Linked DNA regions of Homo sapiens: region 1 is linked to region 2. The links are contacts of gene promoters, found by promoter capture Hi-C in human tissues and cell types (Jung and others, 2019). All regions are on one chromosome and are shown on one strand. Each heading gives the region's core, a stretch centred on a gene start or on the middle of the fragment in contact. The rest is flanking DNA. Distances are from core to core; before and after follow the strand shown. Region 1 holds the start of SMCO3 (single-pass membrane protein with coiled-coil domains 3). Region 2 holds the start of MGP (matrix Gla protein).

Region 1 (6,081 bases), core at 1,355-3,854, 72 kb after region 2:
GTGACAGAGTGAGACTCTGTCTCAAAAAAAAAAAAAAAAGAGAAAATATAAAGACCTGATCAGCAATTTCAAATGCTGCAAGTATGATAAACACTGTAAATTATTTCTTATGTTTAGTCATTACAATGTCATTGACAATGCTAGAAAAGCAATTTTGCAAGAGGCAGGAATATGTACAGAAGCTAGATTATAAATACTGGAAAATTAATGGAGAAAATGAAGTAGAGGCAATGCATGTACACTACCAAACTGGGAAGTCTAACTGTGAAGAAGAAAGATAAAGGAGGCTATTGGGTCAAAAAGGTGATTATTTTTAGGTTTGCTTGATTTTTTTTTAAGTGCAGCATTCATAAGTGCTGGCAAATTGTTGAAACAATCGTAATTGAATCGGGCAGTTTATTCAGGGTCATGTAATATATGGTTTTTGAGCAGAGATTTTAGGAAAAGAAGGGGATGAGCTTTAGGATAAAAGGGAAAATAAAGCATTCTAAATAAAAGACGATCAAGTGAGAGCTACATGCAGATAAGTTTGGAGATATTATTGCTTTCACTCTCATTTCCCACCACTGTCAATCCAGCAGTGAAACTTGTCAAATCAGCCTTCCTGATTCCCTAAAACCACCCTGACTCCAAGATCTACACTAAGAAAATGTGCCTCCTTCCTAAGGTTCAGTTCTGACTATTGACTTGACGTTAATACTGGCTTTAGTAGTCAAGAAAGATTTAAGAAGTTCAAGTTTTCAACCTGAGAAACTGATTGCAGAAAAAAGAAGTTCAAGTTGATTAGGGGGCTCAGTATGAAGTCAATATTGCTTCTAGTTTTTCTCTGATAATTATTTTGCATTGTTACTGTTTATCCTTAATTTTGGCAACTCCACTTAGGCTGCTATGTGGTAGGAGAGAAAGGAGTGGATGAGTAGGCAATAAATGTTAAGAAGGGTAGAAATAGGAGAGAAACAAACACCTTAGGAACAAGTGGGTTAAATGGTACTCTTCAACAATAGCCTCTTCGGAAACAAAATGCAACTGTTTTAAGACAGGGTAAAAGACAGACATATTTTGTCCACATACTGTAGGCAATGGGGTTGGTAACTTATGCTTTATTGTCCATACCTACTAATCAAGTTTACATAATGTACCCTTCCTGAAATCCAAATCTCCAAATATTACACCATAATTAAAAGGATTTTTTAATGGTTCATTATTATCTACAGAATGAAATACAATTTCCTAGCATGACATCTAAGGCTATCTACAAACTATTTTCAATTTTCCATGACTTACCTTCCCTTAACTGCTCCCACTTACACCCTGTATCACCAGCAGGTTGGTTTTTGTTCCCTGAAAATGTTCTACAATTTTTGGTTCAGCTCCTTTGCTCTCAGTGTTCCCTCTATCTGTATTATTTCCTCTATACCACCATCCTCCCCAAACATCTATTAAAATCCTACTTAACATCCATACCTAGTTCAGATACACTGGCCACACATCCGTACGTGGTGGGGCCCTGGATACATCAAGGGCAAGATGATCCACTGGGACAAAAGTAGAAAAGTGACCCCACTTAGCCCTTCTTTAGAATCACAGGGCAGCATCTTTAGATTTTAAAGTTTCCTGTCTGCCTGTCTGGCATTTTGATTCTGTATCCTGTACCCACCCATTCTCCTCTCCCCTCCACCAGGAGATACTGTTGTTAATATATGAATAGCTACCGTTTCATAAGATTTTGCCACATATCAGCCACTATGCCAATTACTTTATAAACACTATCCCATTTAATCCATAAATTATTAACTAATACTCATATTACACCAATGGGAAAACTCAGGCTAAGTGACTTTCTTAGGATTACATGACTAGTAAGTGGTACTTGGAGTACACAAAACCAGGACTGTCTGAGTGTAAAGCCTGCTGTCTTTCACTAAGTTACACTGGGGCTGAGTGATTTCCCTGCCACTCAGGTGTCTTTGCTGTGGAGGAATTAACGGGTCTGAAGACTGAAGCTGGGAAGAAGCAGCAGGGAAGACTGATCTGAGCTTTCAGGGAAAAGAGTGAAGTTGGACTTTAAGGTTTTTATATTGTCAAGACAATTTACAAACACAGGAAGAGAAAGAATGACAAAGAGGAGAACTCCTAGCTGGAAAGAAGAGAAAAAAAAATTGGATGCAAGTAACTGCATTTATATATCTTGAGAATTTAAATAATCAGCAACAGTTAGAGGTGCAAATGCAACAGAAGCTAAAAGAAACTTAGTATCTGGAATAGTTGACAAGATAAAACCCCAAAATCTGAGAGCTGCAATCAAAGAGCCATCTTCTCTACTAAATTGAATTAGCTCAGTTATATAGCGCTTCTCAACAATAAAAAGTCCATTAAAGAACAGAAATTTAAAAATAAGTTTTACACACTATTAGTCTTCCAGTTTATATAACTTAATACTGTATACTAAGTTTTTATTAATAGGAAATGAAGGAATTCTGAGGGCCAAGCCATGTAGAAATAGCCTATAAACCAGACAGGCAGAGGGACCCAGCAGAGACTAGCAAAGTCTGTAAGTCATCACATTCCATCAGAAATATCCAGATGAAACCAGATGAAAAAGCACTTTAACAATACTCCTAAACAACTGCTAGGACCACGGAACTCAGAAACACAGCAAGGTAAGCAACGTGGATATTTCTATTAGTATTGATATAATACTCTGTTTCTCAGTAGTAGGAGGAATTTGAATTAGCCCGTCAGTCTTGAATCCTAACCATAAATAAAATAAAGTAAAAAAACAGCTTTGTTATAAGAGGATCCCATGACATGTTCCTTGTGATTTGGAAGGAACCTTTCCTGGTGCCTTCTCTGAAGACAGCAGAGAAGGAAGAAAATTAACAATTTCTAGGACTGATTAAGTCAGAGTGGAAGAGAAGCAGTAAAGACATCAATTCTAAGAAGGATTAAGGATGAAATGATACCTGTGTGAATGTGTGAAGTTTACATGGATAGTAACATTTCCTTCTATGTCATTAATATTAATATAGGCACTCAGTACCTATCTATGAAAGAATGAATGTGGAATCTAATACTGGTTAATGTATAGTACTTATACTCCTTCATAAATTATGTTGTATCTAAATATCTCTGAGCATTTGCTGTGTGTCTCCAAACAGGCTGTTATCGTCTTGAGGGCAAGGAACATTGTCGTTTTCAAATGCCTCAAGGGACACAGTAGAGGCTTCACCAGTGAGCACTTGATAAATGCTGATGAATGACTTTAATATTCTTCTTTCTGGTCAGAAACATTTTTTAAATGAATTTATATCAGAAAGTATATCATCACATCATGATCAATTTTTGTTTTAATTAAAGGCCACAGATTTTTATTTGAATTAAAGGAGACTCAGAACTAGTTAGAAGCTGTTATTTTCTTCTGAAAAGCTCCTGATTTTACCTATACCCTATTTCCACACTCCCAGATAAGGAAACTGTGCATGATGGCAAAACCCTGTTTGGACAGTGAAGAAAAGTGACAGCAAGAAGAAATGTAAAACCTCAGAGAGCACTAACGACTAAACATCAGAGGTTTAGACAGGGTCACGTTTTTCTTTTTCTTTCTTTTTTATTTGTTATAAGAAAAGTTCAAACATACACAGAAGTAGAGACAATAATATAATAAACTCCCATGTACCCATAACTCAGCTTTAAAAATTATCAAAACAAGGCCAATCTTTTTTCCTCTATAACCCTACCCCACTATTCTTTCCAGATTATTTGTGAACAAATCTCTGAGACCATTTCATTTCATCTTAAATGTTTTCAGTATGTATTTCCAAATAGGCAAGAACTTCTCTTTTTGAAATTTAACCTTACTCTTCCCAAATCAACAATATTTAAACAGGACCATCTTTGACTGGGAAATATACCAGCACTATGCTCAGTATCTGGGTGACAGGATCATTCACAGTAAACCTCAGCAACACACAGTATAGTCAGGGAACAAACCTGTGTATGTACCTCCTGAATCTAAAATAAAAATTGTAAAAATTTTATAGCAGGATACCCAGTATCCTGCTATAAAAATTTATTTGGGGTAGCACAGTAAAAGCTTTTGGAATGCAATTTACGATACATATCAAAAGTAATAAAAATTTAATTCCCATTACTTATGCCACTAATTATGTAATTCTTCTAGGTACTTATGCTGAGGAAATAATCCAGATAATGGAGGAAAAAAAATCTGTGGGTATCAAAATGCTCATTAGAATATTAGTGATAGTGAAACAATTTTAGATTTATTGAACCAGGGTAAAGACAGGGAATAGTATACGTAACCAATAAAATTTTTTTTTTTTTTGAGACGGAGTCTCCCTCTGTCACCCAGGCCGGCGTGCAGTGGCACAATCTCGGCTCACTGCAAGCTCTGCCTCCCAGGCTCATGCCATTCTCCTGCCTCAGCCTCCCAAGTAGCTGGGACTACAGGCGCCCGCCACCGCGCCCGGCTAATTTTTTGTATTTTTAGTAGAGACGGGGTTTCACCGTGTTAGCCAGGATGGTTTCGATCTCCTGACCTCGTGATCCGCCCGCCTCGGCCTCCCAAAGTGCTCGGATTACAGGCGTGAGCCACCACGCCCGGCCAAATATTTTTAAAGCTATAAATAGGGGAAAGTGTTAAGTGAATAAAAGATGAATTTTATTTATACTATTATGATAACTTTGTGAAGATACTTATGCATATAAACAAATTTTGAAAAAGAATAACAAAAATCAAAAGTGAAATGGTAGGTTTATGGGTGTTTTTCCTCCTCTATTTAAAAAAGTGTATATGTTACTGGTAATAAGTATATATTTAAAAATCGTTTTACCAAACCGTTCACTTTTAATTTCTCCATAATGTACCATCTATCAAAGTATAAATCATATATTGCATTCTCCATGAAGCTTTCTCTAATCACCTTGATATTAATTTCTAAGTTCAACAGCACTTGACAGTCAACGCACTACTGTTATTCACGAAAGTACCCTGAAGAGTTGTATTTGAACATATGATGATCAGTACATTTTCATTTTGTAAGGTAGTTCCTTTTCTGAAAAACTAAAACAACTGTATGATGTCATTAAATAAAACTTAACTTTTAGACACAATTATCAGCATATTTCTACCATATCTTAGATGCCCTTTAATCTTAAATGTTGACTTCTCAATTCAAAAAAATTAACAAGGTTAGGTGCAGTAAGCATCCATCTCAAGCTAACCTTTGTCTCCATTTTCATTTCTTAAGGTGTGCTGACCAATGACATCAGCACTTTCAGATGTTTTTTGTCATTTTTTAATAAAATAACAAGTCAAAAATTTCCAAACTTTGTTTTAGCAACAGAACTCTCTCATCAAATAAAATTTTACCTACCCAGAGCCCAAATGTGTAGAGCAAGAGAAAGCACAGCTGCTCCAGTCCAGCAAAGGCCCAGGTGAAAAATGGGAGACCCAGAGACCAAGAGCTCCACCTGCTGTCTAGCAATTCCCAATGGGCTGCTCCAGGGCACTACAGAACCCATTTCATGGATAACTACAAGAAAATATTCAAATAATAGCACAAACTCTGTACAAAAGTGGATGGTAATTCCCCAAGTGGAACTTTTCACCAACAGGAAGCACCATCATGTGACAATTCAAATTATGTAAAAGTTCAAACTTACCATACAATAGGTGTAGTTAATTAGAGCTGGATTAAATATACCACTTGCTGTTGGTGCTACAATCTTTGAAAGTGACAGGTCATCAATGAAAATGGAATAAGATGGAGAAAGTATATGGCTCAGAACTCCTCTCGGGCACAATATTATGGGTTGTTTGTAAAATATCACTTGAAGCTTGCCTGAGTAACAACTACGATCTTTAAGAAGGGTGACTCCAAATAATTGCAGGGCTTTTGTTTTGCTGAGTGGAGTAATCACTTTGGGAGTCAGAACTAAATTGTTAAGGGCAATAGCGAAAATACTGCACACTGCCAACTATGGTTCTCCATGTGGTGCCCAGCCTCTCCTCAACTGTCAAGCACATATCTAAGAATACTTGAAAGGTTACAAATTGTTAAC
Region 2 (6,369 bases), core at 1,632-4,131:
TCTTTTTTGTTAAGGGAAAATGTCTATATAAGTGTCTTTCATAATTATCTAAAATCTAATTAGAATTTAGAGTTTCATGTGGTCTCGTCTTGACAAGATATCCCAATTAAGAAAATGCAAACTAGCTGGCAAAATTAATTTGTTCAAATTTCAATATTTTCTGAAAATTTTCAGACAGTATTCTGCAATCTCAAACAATGCTATTCCTAACCAAAGCAACTTTTATTTCTCTGTTCCCATGTCTCGCTTTTAATATGTCTCACCTTCTACAACTGCCTCCGTTTTTCTCTGTCACTCAGTCTCTACCTAAAACTCACCCAGCAAACCAAATTGGTAAGGCTCTTCTCATTTCCCCTTCTCCGTTTTTTTTTTTTTCCTACTTCCATTCTTTTCTTCTGTCTTCTCTCAGATGAGTCAATCTTGGTCCTTTCTAATGCAAAGCTCCCATCCCTGCTTCATGCGTTAGTCCAAGTCCTCATCATAAAAACATATGACTGGAGTTGGCATTCACAAAGTTGTCTTTGAAATGGGGAGTAAGGTGACAGAGGAGAAAAAGAAGAGCTCTGGATTCTCAGACATGTTAATAATTTTTACATATCATATATAAATGGGATTTTGCAGAGAAGAACCAGAAATAGATGGGAGAGCAATGGACAGGAAAGGCAGATGAGGGACCGAAGAGACACAGCTCCCAAAAGAAAGTTAGCCTTACAAAAACCAAGACGATAAAGAGAAATGCTTAAGTTTAGGGAATCCAGTGGAAGCAGTGATTTAAGGTGAACAAAAGGTGAACCTTAAGTTGAAATGAGAAGTGTAGGATTTTCAAGTTTAGTTTCTGGGAGTGTAAAAATAAAAAAACAATTGTGATGTCAGAGGTTGAAAGATTATAGTTGTCATTTGAACTTGGGGATAAAGGAGACATCTATGACTTGGCTGGAAAAGACAGAGCTAATGTACATTGCAAAGCACATATTTATAGCAGGAAAATGGGAAGATTTCTCTTTAATTCTGGAGATGGAGTGGGGATGGGGAGAGTAGACTACTCATTTTAAGGGTGAAACATTGGAATTCAACTTGTTTGATGTTATATTAATTGGTGGTTAATTACTAAGCTAAGTACGTATAAAACTTTTATCTATGGCTAGCTTGTCCCCCCAAAGTCATGCAATATAGTGAACTGGCTTTCGCACTTTAAATTATTCATTGATCATGTAATGATTCAGATGATTCATCTTCCAAGATGGACACTGAAACTAACACTCATAGTAGGTTGTGGTTTAAAGAGTGGAACAACCGCCAGTCTCATTAGTGGAAATTGTGATGGTTGAATTTATCAAGGATGAACATACACGGTCTTCTTTCTGAGATTTTCTTTAAGATTTTCGCACAGATAATCTATTTCTTAGGTTTTGGAGAGAAAACTTGAATTTTATTGATCCCTCAGAACTCAATCTTTCAGATTTCAAAGGAGCTATTTCTTTTAATGGGGACTCTGTTAATATTTATAAAAGCTCTTCACAGGATGGAGGGTGGGAGGGAAACTCCATCCCAACAAGACAAAAAGAATGAAGCATGAGGCTCCACCTAGTTCATCACTGCTCCTTGAAATACATCAGTATTGAAAGACACATCCACCCCACCCCCAACCCAGCCCTATTGCTGTTCCAGCTCAAGAGTCAGAGGTCCCGAAGCTGTAGCTCTTCTACAATCTGCTGCTCTGTGACTTCAAGTCTGTTGTCTGCAAAGAAAACTATTGGGTTCCCAAGCAAGAGAGGCACATCTGGTAGGACAGATTTTGTGATTGCAAAAGAAGGGGGAAAAAAAGAAAGAAAGAAAAGACCTCTCTATACAAGATAACCAGAGGCATCAAACTGAAATCCTCCTGTGGAAAATAAGCTAGTACTTCTGGGCCTGATGGTGTAGTGAAAACCTGTGCTTGAGGATACATTACAGTGAAAGAGCAAAGTGAATAGTAAGTAGCTATTACTTACCTCCTTAGGGAGGTGTGTTGTTTGTCTGTACATCCCCCACAGCACCTAGCACAGTACCTTGCATCTCACCTGCCACTCACTAAAAAGTCTATCAAGTTAGTTAATTATCGAGACAACGCCCTCAGAAATGAGAGAACAGTACCCTCTTATCCTTGCTGCACTTTCCAGCACTGATACGCTGCCTAAAAGAGGACTAGGGCACAGGTTTGAATTAATGTCACAAAACTGGATGGGCAAGTTACAACGGTGTTGATTAAGGAAACAGAACTCATGGTGCACCGGATATCTCCATCCTGATGAACCCTTGGAAAAATGCCAAAGATGCATATCCCCAGGCAAATGCCTGATTAGTCTGGGATTGATAGATTGGTCTAGGATTCAGCCCTACTGGGAAGATGTCTAAATTATAATCAGTGTAGAAAGCGAAGTTCTCCTAGAAGAAGAGGCAAAGGTTAAAAAGAAGAAAAGAAAAGAAAGTGAAGTCCTTTCTCCCCCAAAACCTCTCATCAATCAATCAGGGTAACAAACAGAACACTAGGGCTCTGTCTGTGGACCAAACCCAAAAGCCCTGCGGTCAGGGCCAGGAGGGTAGATCATGTGTTTGTGGCAACTTCCTCTGTGGGCTTTTGCCCAGGTCTGTCCCCAAGCATACGATGGCCAAAACTTCTGCACCAGAGCAGCATCCTGTGTAACACAGTCAGGTCCAGCAGTTAGGGAAAACTGCCCACTCAGAGTAGATAATATCTGGAAGGAATGACTGTTTGGGAAAAGTTCCAATGCTAGTTCAGTGCCAACCCTTCCCCACCTTCTCCAGCTCTCTCCCACTGGTTCCTCCCCTCTCAACTGCTCTGGTTCTTATAAAAACCTCACAGCCTTCCACTAACATCCCGTAGGAGCCTCTCTCCCTACTGCTGCTACACAAGACCCTGAGACTGACCTGCAGGACGAAACCATGAAGAGCCTGATCCTTCTTGCCATCCTGGCCGCCTTAGCGGTAGTAACTTTGTGTTATGGTGAGAAACTTTTCTCCCATTTCTCTGTGTTTACTTTTCTGCCTCTGACTTTGGCTTACTTCTATTTTTCCTCTCCCTCCTCCTCTTCTTCCCCCTTTCTCTGTTATAATCTTAAAGTACCATTACTTTCACATTTCCCAGTCTCCGCAGAAACTGATCTGTTCTATTAAGTCTTTTTTATATCCTAAATATCCAGAGTCTTATGCAACTTAACAGGCAAACCCGTTCAGTGGTAAGTCTCTGTATATCTAGAAACTCATATTTCAGAAAGAAGATACCAAATTCCCAGCCCCCTGCATCCTCATTTTTAAGGATATTTATTTAGACTTTGGTATCAATGGGTTAAGGGTATTGTTTAAACCACTTGCCTTTGAGAAAATCCATTTTTATGTGAAGTATTAAGTATAGCCCTTTCTAGGGACTGGACAATCTCATGAACTTACTATGTTTGTTCAGTTAATTAATTTTAAAATAAAGTTTTACATCAAAAGAATTTTAGAAAAGAATCATTTTCATAACTCCTGTTGTCAGAAAATAAATTTTGCCTGTTTTCTATATGTCATTAAATATACCTGCATTTGTTCAAAGCTTATAAAAGGAAATCTGAAGCAAAGTTATTTACTTATTTCAGTCTTTTGTTTCAATTACCTAGATATTTTCATTGTTTTAAAATTTAAATTACATTAACAACCATAAAGATTATGCTTCTCACTCTTGTATTCACAAATTTTCTGTATTAGAGGATTTGATTTCTTCACCTCCTTTTTAAGTTTTGAAGAAAATTCACTTGCTGGCAAATATTAATAGAAGCTTCTTATTCCAAAATTTATCTGCTGTGCTCAGGAGAGTGGCAGAAAGAAGAAAACTTCGGCTTTGATATCGTTTCAGTTCTCTCTCTGAACTGGCATCGTGCCCAGGGTGAGCTGTCAGCTGGAGCTAGTGGTTTCTGTGGCTGCCAATTTAACACAGGTTCTTAAGAGGCTTTCGGAACCCTCTTAGAAACCTGCCCTAGTAAGCCCAGCAGAGCAACTGCCCTGTAGTTCTCTTGCCTGGAGAAACCTGGCTGTCTTCTGGATCCTTCTTAATCCTCTTTGACCCTGTTCTCAAACAGGCTCTGAATAAATCAGAGAAGAAGGTTCTCTGGAGACTTCTGTACAGCACTTAAAGTGTCTTATTTTGCTTGTCTGAAGACGTCATAGCCCTTGGGAAATTTTAGCTGAAAATGGCCACTCCCTCCTTCAACATCAGAGAAACTAAAATATAGAGATATCCACAGCAAGGCCAGAGCTAGAGAAAAACCTCATAAATCCTAAATTCCTGAAATTTCTAATAACCACACTGCTAAATATATTCTTCATGTTTTTAGACTCTTTCCTCTTCTTCCATCCCTGTATTTAAACTATCACAGTGTCTAAATTGATAAATAATAACATAATGAATCATGGATAAATATTGATATAATGAATCTTTTTTTTTTAATTTCAGAATCACATGAAAGCATGGAATCTTATGAACTTAGTAAGTGAATATTTAACTTCTTTATTCAAATCCCTTGCATTAAAGAACCTCTTCTTATTTTTAAATAAACAAGATGGAAAGATATATAACAGGGAGGGAAAAGGGGGCCTCTTTTGGAAAACTAAAGTAAATTTTTAAATCTAATGACTATAAAAATTGCCAAAGGAGCAATTTTTTAAGTTTGAAGTAGTGCAATATGGGATTTAAGCTACAGGCGACATATTTAGAAGCCATAAAATCTCATTTGGAAATTTTAAATTGGCACCACGTCAACTGCACAGATGGAAAACGAGGAGTAATGACAAATGGTAAAGCACAGAGCTGGACGCCAAGTCAGCTGGGAGACCACAGGCGCCACGTTAAGCTGAGTGCTGTTTTGGTTTTTTTGTGTTTTTCTTTCTTGTTTTTTTTTTTGAGACAGTGTCTCACTCTGTCGCCCAGGCTAGAGTGCAGTGGTGTGATCTCGGCTCGCCGCAACCTCCACCTCCCAGGTTCAGGCAATTCTCATGCCTCAGCCTCCTGAGTAGCTGGGATTACAGGCCCATGACATCATGCCTGGCTAATTTTTGTATTTTTAGTAGAGATGGGGTTTCACCATGTTGTCCAGGCTGGTCTCGAACTCCTGGCCTCAAGTGATCCACCCACCACAGCCTCCCAAAGTGCCGGGATTACAGGCATGAGCCACCACACCCAGCCAGCTGATTGCTGTTGAATAGCTGGATTTATAAAGACTGAGCATAGGAGGAAATGGCACATCACTCTCATTTTTAATTTATTCATTATTTTTATAGTGTTTAAACTGTTCATGTATCGGCAATCTAGTTATGCTTCATAAATCCTCAGGACAGAGAATTTCTCCTCAAAAGGAATTTAAAATCTACCAAGTAGAAATACAGAAATTAAGAAAGGCAAAGTGATCGTCCAAACTCAAAACCAACAAAGCCTATATGACAAGTCTCTAAGACACATGGATTGATTACTGATTTCATTTGATCAGGAAGTTAATGAAATCTACTTTATACTCTCCTTTAATTTTTGCCAATCTCCGTTTATATGAGTTGCATAAGTTAAGGCACTTTCAAATATATTTGTGTCAAGGAATATTCACGGAAATATTTCCAGCTATGTGTCGCTAAAACTGCATTTATTTATTTTCTGTTCTAAGATCCCTTCATTAACAGGAGAAATGCAAATACCTTCATATCCCCTCAGCAGAGATGGAGAGCTAAAGTCCAAGAGAGGTCAGTAACAAAACTTCATGAGGAGTGGTCATTTTTCCCAGTGTAGATCACAGATCTGAATTGGAGTGGGAAACAGCTTTTTCATCATATACATTATTTCTAATTGTATCTTTAAAATCAAAAAACTTAAAAGCAATATTCAGAAAACAACTGAATTATTAGAAAATTATTTGGGGAAAGATCCGGAAAGGAGAAGGAAGGAGGAGAGAAAGGAGGACAGAAAGAAAACTTCTATTTTCATTAAAAAAAAAAAAAAAATCTCCTGTTCTGCCTTCCCTCCCTGGTTTTTTTTTTGGTTGGTTGGTTGGTTTTTCTGAGACAGAGTCTCACTCTGTTGCCCAGACTGGATTATAGTGGCACTATCTCGTGCCTCAGCCTCCCAAGTAGCTGGGATTACAGGCACGTGCTACCATGTCCAGCTATTTTTGCATTTTTTGTAGAGACGGGGTTTTGTCATGTTGGCCAGGCTAGTCTTGAACTCCTGACCTCAAGTGATCCACCCACCTCAGCCTCCCAAAGTGCTGGGATTACAGGCCTGAGCCACCGCACCCAGCCTCTCCCTGTTCTTTAAATATCTCTTAATATAGGGGGGCATGGAGAGAAAGT

Evidence for each region. Contacts are between HindIII fragments. The study calls those that stand out against the background at their distance.
Region 1: a contact is called between the fragment with the promoter of SMCO3 here and the fragment with the promoter of MGP in region 2, in 1 of the 25 tissues and cell types used here (adrenal gland).

What each region holds. Positions count from the first base shown.
Region 1 is chr12:14,810,705-14,816,785 of GRCh38, reverse strand. It overlaps SMCO3 (single-pass membrane protein with coiled-coil domains 3), which reads left to right and starts at 2,604. Exons shown (of 2, transcript NM_001013698.2): 1 at 2,604-2,660. The region is part of intron 1 of C12orf60 (chromosome 12 open reading frame 60); the gene reads right to left. The HindIII fragment of the contact is 14,769 bases long and covers 1-4,510 here.
Region 2 is chr12:14,882,366-14,888,734 of GRCh38, reverse strand. It overlaps MGP (matrix Gla protein), which reads left to right and starts at 2,881. Exons shown (of 4, transcript NM_000900.5): 1 at 2,881-3,004; 2 at 4,490-4,522; 3 at 5,688-5,763. The coding sequence starts at 2,944. The HindIII fragment of the contact is 8,639 bases long and covers 1-6,369 here.